Regions from separate parts of the Homo sapiens genome. Here region 2 is linked to region 1. Evidence: promoter capture Hi-C in human tissues and cell types (Jung and others, 2019). All regions are on one chromosome and are shown on one strand. The core of a region is centred on a gene start or on the middle of the fragment in contact, and the rest is flanking DNA. Distances in the headings are between cores, read along the strand shown.

Evidence for each region. Contacts are between HindIII fragments. The study calls those that stand out against the background at their distance.
Region 2: a contact is called between a fragment that was not itself captured here and the fragment with the promoter of PLEKHH1 in region 1, in 1 of the 25 tissues and cell types used here (H1 embryonic stem cells).

Annotation. Positions count from the first base shown.
Region 1 is chr14:67,531,434-67,535,106 of GRCh38, forward strand. PLEKHH1 (pleckstrin homology, MyTH4 and FERM domain containing H1) reads left to right here and starts at 1,857. Exons shown (of 29, transcript NM_020715.3): 1 at 1,857-1,965. It also overlaps a transcript of GPHN not described here and a transcript of TMEM229B not described here. RefSeq lists a silencer at 1,481-1,950. The HindIII fragment of the contact is 40,466 bases long and covers 1-3,673 here.
Region 2 is chr14:67,392,865-67,396,537 of GRCh38, forward strand. PLEK2 (pleckstrin 2) reads right to left here. Exons shown (of 9, transcript NM_016445.3): 3 at 2,538-2,719; 4 at 286-377. It also overlaps a transcript of GPHN not described here. Among named protein-coding and RNA genes, the nearest start is that of PLEK2, 17 kb to the right of the region's middle. The HindIII fragment of the contact is 4,611 bases long and covers 1-3,673 here.

The DNA of each region.
Region 1 (3,673 bases), core at 607-3,106:
GCTCAGAGTTGGGCAATGGTGAGATGCACTCTATGGCCCCAAACTCATTGAAAGTAACAACTGAGCTGAAAAAAATGTGGAGTCTCTTCTGCCCTCTACAGAAGTAACCAGCTATAGGGGAGAGCATGCTCCTCCCATTCCACTCTCCATGGTGCGTCTCTTTTCACTATATAACAAAGTTATATTAAATGAGTTCTGGGCCGAGGTGCGGTGGCTCATCCCTGTAATCCCAGCACTTTGGGAGGCCGAGGCAGGAGGATTTCTTGAGTCCAGGAGTTTGAGACCCCACCTCTACTAAAAAAAAAAAAAAATTTTTTTTTTTTTTTTTGCTGGGTATAGTAGCATGTGCCTATAGTCCCAGCTGTTCATGAGGCTGAGATGGGAGGATTGCTTGAGCCCAGGAGTTCAAGTTACAGTGAGCTATGATTGTGCCACTGCAATCCAGCCTGGAGAACAGAACAAGAAGAACCTATGTCCAAAAAAAAAAAAAAAAAAAAAGTGAATGAATGAATTAATGTCTTCTTAGCAAAATCCAGAGAACGTGTTTTTGGGCTTCCTTATGCAACTTCTGGAATGTTGAAGTGGATAGCCTGAGCATTGTCCCACAAAATGGGGCTAATCTATCCCAATCCCCACGAGCTATAAAGCTGTTTGCAAGTTCAGCCATTGAAGTCCCATTGGCCCAGTTAAATTCTCACGTTTGGCCTCCTGCACTACCAGCTTTCCTTAGTGTCTGGGCTCTCAAAACTTCTACGTGAGAATGGCCTGGGGTACTTTAGTTAGAGATTCAGATTCAAACCCAGGGTGGGGGTGTTCTTCATGGTGCCTGGGATGAGTCTTCCAAGGACCATTTGGAGAAACAGGCGCTGATGGTATTTTGCTTCTGTTCAGTCCTTCACTGACAGAGAGCCTGCAGGGTTGAGGAAGAAGGCTCTGTTTTGAAGTGTGGATCCCTCCCTGCAATGGTCTCTATTTGCATCTTCTTTACTCCAGGCTCACCTAGCCAAATGTTGAGTTTTCCAACCCCTCTGGGTATGAGATTGCTTTGGGCGATCTGAGATCTGCAAATGTCTGAGAACGAGGAGCACATGGGCACGCTGATGACTGCCCTGCAAACTGCCTGGCAGCCAGGGTCCTCCTGGGCCCTCCTTTAAAATAACATATACATAAGCCGGCCTGGAGGCCCAGGCGGGAAGATCACTTGAGCTCCGGAGTTCGAGTCCAGCCTGGGCAACATAGCGAGACCAGAAAATAAGCAAGTAAGTTACTCTCTGGGCTGTCGTAACTTATTTTTTCTTTTTCTCCTGCAAATTGCAACTCAGAACATTTGGTCTGCCAGACTGAAATATGGACTTCTGTTCCAAATATCCAGACGTTACAGTTCCCACAGGTGGCCAGGAGAATGCTGGAACCTTTGGCGGAGACGGTCTGGTCTTGTCCCGCAGCCCGCGAGGGTCCCCCGCTATTTGGGGTCAAGCAGATCCCCGGGGCGCTCTGGCCACCCCTTGCGGCAGCTGGTGCGGCCTCCTCGGAGAGCTCCGGGCCGGCGCCCGGGACACCCCGCCGCCCTCCCTGCCGCCCCAGGGACGAGCCCAGCGGTGCGGAGAAGTGGGAGGCTGGAGCCTGCTGAGGTCATTTCCTGTGCCTCTCCGCGAGCTGCCTGGAGAGCTGAGCCCAGCGCTCTGCCTTTAAGGAGCGGGCGGGGAGCCGAGGGGAGGAGGGCGCCCGGCGGAGCGTTGAATGGGGCGCAGCAAGGCTCGGCCGGGCTTTGTGCAGCGAGCCCGCGGGCACCCCTCCCGCTCCAGCCTCGCCCCGCCCCGCAGCCCACGACCCCTGCTGCCGGGGAGGGGAGAACCGGCGGCAGCCCGGGACTCCGGCGAGAGCGACGCAAGGTCGGCTGCGGCGGCGGCCCGAGGGCGCCCGTGTGCCCAGTGCGCGGCGGGGACGGCCGCGAGCTCGCTGGAGGTGAGCGACCCGCGCTCCCGCCGCTGTGGTGGGCTGGGGCTGCGCCGCGGCGGAGGGCGTCAGGCTGCGCGCGGGGGACGGCCCCTCGGGCCCAGAGGACGATCCGGAGCAGGTGCCTCCCTACCTGGAAGCGAGCTCCCAGCGGCGGGGAGCGCTGGAGCGCGGGTCTGGCTTGGGAAGCCGGGCGCCCCAGGGGACTCGCGCCGCGAGGCCAGGAGGAGCCTCCCCCGGGAGTACCTGGACTTGGGGATCGGTCAGATCCAGCCGCTCCTGGGAAGGGCCCTCGGAGCGGACGTGCAGGCTGCCACCTTGCTATCGGTGCTCGCTCCCTTTCACCCCTTCCCGCACCCCTCCCCATCTCACCTCAGGTTATTTCTTCTGTGATTTCTGAGTGTTGTCTTTGGGACCCTATGGCTCAGGCTCGACTCCTAGGAGCAGGTCATTCAAGCAGAAAAGAAAACAGGTTGGGCGCCGAATGACACAGAGCATTGTGTCCTAGGAGTCTTAGCGAGGACTCGGTCACCAGGAACCAGGGGCCTTAGTGGGGGTGGCAGAGGCGGTGAAGAGCCTCATCTGGAAGGAAACTCCTCTCCTTGTGGGATTTCTGCTTGCCAGGATATCTCCTCCATAGCTTTTACTATGAATCCACCTCATAAAACTCTTCCAAGACAGAGCCTTGGTTCAGGTAAAACACTTGAAAGACCATTTAAAAAATTCAGTGGGAGAATTATCAGTTCCTTCATCAAACTGTTTGGACTGTCTTCTATGTGACAGACACTGTGTATAGGGCTAGTACCATCACTGAACGCTTTATAGAACATCGGTATTAGTGTTTCTGCATATTATTGGCCCCATTTTTCCAAAGGAGGAAGCTGGGACTCTGAAAAGTTGTGATTTAGGCCAGTTGCAGTGGCTTATGCCTGTAATCCCAGCACTTTGGGAAGCCAAGGCAGGAGGAGAGCTTGATGCCAGGAGTTCAAGACCAGCCTGGGCAACATAGGGAGACCCTGTGTCTACAAATAAATAAAAATTTAAAAATTAGCTGGGTGTGGTGGTGTGGGCCTGTAGTCCCAGCTAACTTGGGAGGCTGATGATCCTGTCTGTTAAAAAAAAAATTGTTGTGATATGCCCATGGTCACATAGCTAAAAAGTGGAAGAGCCATAACTGAAACCCAAGCCTCCTAAATTCCTAACGTATGGTTCAGTCCACTTCTACCACCTTCCCATAGACTGCTGAGGGGGCCTGCTCAGAGTTGGGCAATTGTGGGGTGCAGCCTGTGGCCCCAAACTCATTGAAACTAACAACTAAGCTGAAAAAATGTGGAGCCTCTTCTGCCCTCTTCAGAAGTCACCAGCTGTAGGGGAGAGCATGTTCCTCCCATTCCTGATAGAAAAAAAAAAATCCAAAGAAATGTCTGGCAATTTAAAGTGTACATCATTTACCCCTAAATTCCATTTTCTGGGACTTTATCCTTCAGATATACTCTGATGTATATGAAATGGTGTACATCATTGAATATTCATTGCAGCATTGTTTAGCAAAAGGTTGGAAACAATCTAGATGTCCATCAATAAGGAACCCTTCAATAAGATCATGTAAAAGCCACACGATAGGATACATTAAAGCTGTTATAAAGCGTGCAGAGAAAATGTGGCAGATATATACTTTGATGTAGGAATATCTCTAAGTTATATTGTTGAGTACAGT
Region 2 (3,673 bases), core at 340-2,839, 140 kb before region 1:
ACCAGTCAGGCGATGGGTGATGGACCAGCGTCCTTGGGGTGTGTGGCCAATGACCTCACTGACCTTGGCCCTCTGGGCAGCCTCAGGGCTCTACGCAAGAGCAGACTGAAGGCCACACCTGCTGCATAGAGCCGTGGCTGCACACCCACACATGGCCATCTCAGGCTAGCCTGTTGCCCAGCAGGCAGCTCTGACCTCAATACAGGGCGGTCAAGCACACAGCTGAGCCCTGCATCACCATGTCCCAGCTTGACTGCCCAGCCCGGCCCTGGGGGACAGGCTCACCGAGGAAGGTCTTTTTATAGGTGCTTCCCTGCTCCATGTTGGGGCTTGAACGGATTCCGGTGTTGCTATCGTGCATCTTGTCCACAATGCGACTACATGGAAGGGAAGGCAAAGGAGAGGGAACCCTCATCACGCGGGCAGGTATAAGGGAGGGTCCTGAGTCACTGCTAAGGGTATAAAGCAAGTGGCAAATGGTGTGACACACATCACAAAGAAAAGGGGTGTAGGAAAGCAGCCTTTTGAATGGCAAGAGTGATGCCATCTTGAAGTGAAGCCGCCATGATGATTGATTTTTGTTGTTGTTGTTTTTTGTTTGTTTTTTGAGACAGAGTCTCGCTCCGTCACCCAGGCTGGAGTGCAGTGGCAAGATCTCGGCTAACTGTGACCTCCGCCTCCCAGGTTCAAGTGATTCTCCTGCCTCAACCTCCGGAGCAGCTGGGATTACAGACATTTGCCACCACACCTGGCTAATTTTTGTAGTTTTAGTAGAGATGGGGTTTCACCATGTTGACCAGGCTGGTCTCGAACTCCTGACCTCAAGTGATCCGCCTGCCTCAGCCTCCGAAAGTACTGGGATTACAGGTGTGAGCCACCGTGCCTGGCCTGATGATGGATGTTTGACTCCTGCATACCACGGTGTTCCCATAGCACGGCTCACCCCTCATAAAGATGTTTATCTAACCTCCCCAGTGGTCACAGGTTTCACAAGAAAGTCTGAGGCACCACTAGCTGCACATTTTCCCAAAAAAGCTTGCTATATAAAGGATATTTTCTGGAAGACAAGTGTGGTGATTCGCTGTCTCTAGGCCAGCAGGGACATCACTTCTGTTTGTAAGTCCCTATTAAATGCCTCTTTGTGAGAAACTGGAATTGTCAGCCTCTTTCTCCTGCCTCTCAGCTCCCCTTGCAGGTAGGTTTGTTTATACCTCCTCACCACAGAACAGGGTGTTCAGTTATGCCTCCAAATTTGAGAGGCAGGATTTTCAGACATTTCTTTTCTTCTCCTTATCTAAATGTTCTTATATTTCTATGCCAGACACACACTGCTTTTGTAGTAAAACCAAAGAGGTGTGACTTTTAACTTACAAACAAGAGTGTATGCTGGGCACAGTGGCTCATACCTGTCATCCCAGTGCTTTGGGATACTGAGGTGGGAGGATCACTTGAGCCCAGGAGGTCAAGGCTGCAGTGAGCCATGATCGAGCCACTGCACTCCAGCCCGGGCAACTGAGTGAGACCCTGTCCCCAAAAAAGAAAAACAAAAAAGCCCCAAGAGTGCACAGTAGCCCACATGGTTCTCTGTGATCCCCTGCATTAAGTCCAAACCCCCTCAGCTACTTTTCCAACTATCTTTAAACCCACCTGCCTACCCACCTTTATCTGCAGCTGATCCTCCCTGCACCCACCTAGACCCATAGGAGGTGTACAGTCAAGATTTCAGTGCCTGGTGGGGAGTTTTTGTGAGCCCAGGAATGGATTCATACATCTTTGATGGGTGTTAACAGTTCTTTTGCCTGGGAGGTTGGTGGAGATTTACTGTGGTTTGAATGTTTATCCCAAAACTCATGTTGAAAATCCCCAATGTGGCAATATTGAGAGGTGATGCCTTTAAGAGGTGATTGGGTCATGGGGGCTCTGCCCTTGTGAATGGATTAATGGGTTAAATGAATTAATGAATTATCATGGGAATGGGACTGGTGGCTTTATAAGAGGAAGAGAGATCGGAGCAAGCATGTTAGCATGCTCAGCCCCCTCACTGTGTGATGCCCTGCACTGCCTCAGGACTCTGCAGAGAACTCCCACCAGCAAGAAGGCCCTCACCAGATGCAGCCCCTCAACCTTGGACTTCCCAGCCTCTATAATGATAAGAAATAAATCCCTCCTTATGAGTTACCCAATTTCAGGTATTCTGTTATAAGTAACAGAAAACAGACTAAGACGAGATTTTGGGGGAGCTGTGACACAGCCCTGAGCACCCTGGCTGAAATGGAATGGGGGTCTTGTGTCATGGAGGTGTGCAGAGGTGGCAAGAGCCACGAGAGATCCCATAGGAATGGGGCAGGTAGGTAGGGCCACTCCCAAGCAGAGAAAATAATATACACAGGACAGGAACAGCTGAAGGCCCTGAAGCACCGTGGTGGCACCAGCCAGACTGTGCAGCAAGCACAGAGCCCCCCCAAGGGGCAGGGTCCCCTGCCCACCCAACACAGGCAGGAGAGGCTGCCACAGAGCCCGGCAAGTGGGGCACTCACTGCAGGCTGATGTGCGGGGGCAGCTTGAAGGAGTTTCTCAGGCTGTGCAGCTGCTGGACCTTCCCCGGCTGCCCTGCATGAATAGCCCCGGTGATCTCAAAGGCCCAGGCATCCCGCTCCTCTCGAGAACAGGCCTCCAGGAAGTACTCCGTGGATGTTTGAGTCTTCAGCTTAATGAGGAGCTGTGGGAAGAGAGAGCCAGTCAGGCCAGCACTCAGGCAGAGCAAGAGGACGCCGGGCAGCAAAAATGACGGGGCCCCGGGAGAATCTAGGTGACAGTGACTGCCAAATGCCCTGAGCCCTCGGCCACATAGCAGGTAGTCTTTAAAGATTCACTTGGACACCTCCAGTGACAGGAAGCTTGCGGCCTCACACTGCAGCCTTTCCCTTGTGGACAAGGTAGTTACTGTAGGGCCTGCCTCCTGGACACACTAGTTCTGTTCTCTCTTCTAGAACCACACAGATGAAGACTCACCTCCTATGACAGCCCCTACACTGAAGAGGGAAATGCCCAGGCTTTAAAATCAGTCCCATCTGAACACAAACCCCAGCTCTGCCACTTGGCTGTGGACTCCCGGGCACATTAGGAAATGACAGGATATTAATGCCTACCTCAAATGGCCTGTTAGTCATGCTCCCTTCCGTCCTCTTTCCTGTGTCTAAGCATCAAGTCTTTCACACATTTCTCATAGGATATAGTTTCAGCTCCTTCCCATCCAGGTCGCTTTGTTTTTTTGTTTTGTTTTGTTTTTTGTTTTTTTCTTGAGACGGAGTCTTGCTCTGTCGCCCAGGCTGGAGTACAATGGTGCAATCTCAGCTCACTGCAAACTCCGGCTCCCAGGTTCAAGCAATTCTCCTGCCTCAGCCTCTTGAGTAGATGGGACTACAGACGCCCACCACCCCGCCTGGCTAATTTTTGTATTTTTAGTAGAGACGGGGTTTCACCATGTTGGCCAGGCTGGTCTTGAACTCCTGACCTCAGGTGATCTGCCAGCCTTGACCTTCCAAAGTGCTGAGATTACAGGCATGAGCCAATGCGCCTGGCCTCTAAGAGAGTTTTCATCAGACCATGCTCTCACTCAAAATCTTCAATGGCTCTCCATTACCTCCATCTGGCCCAAACCAAACTCCTATCA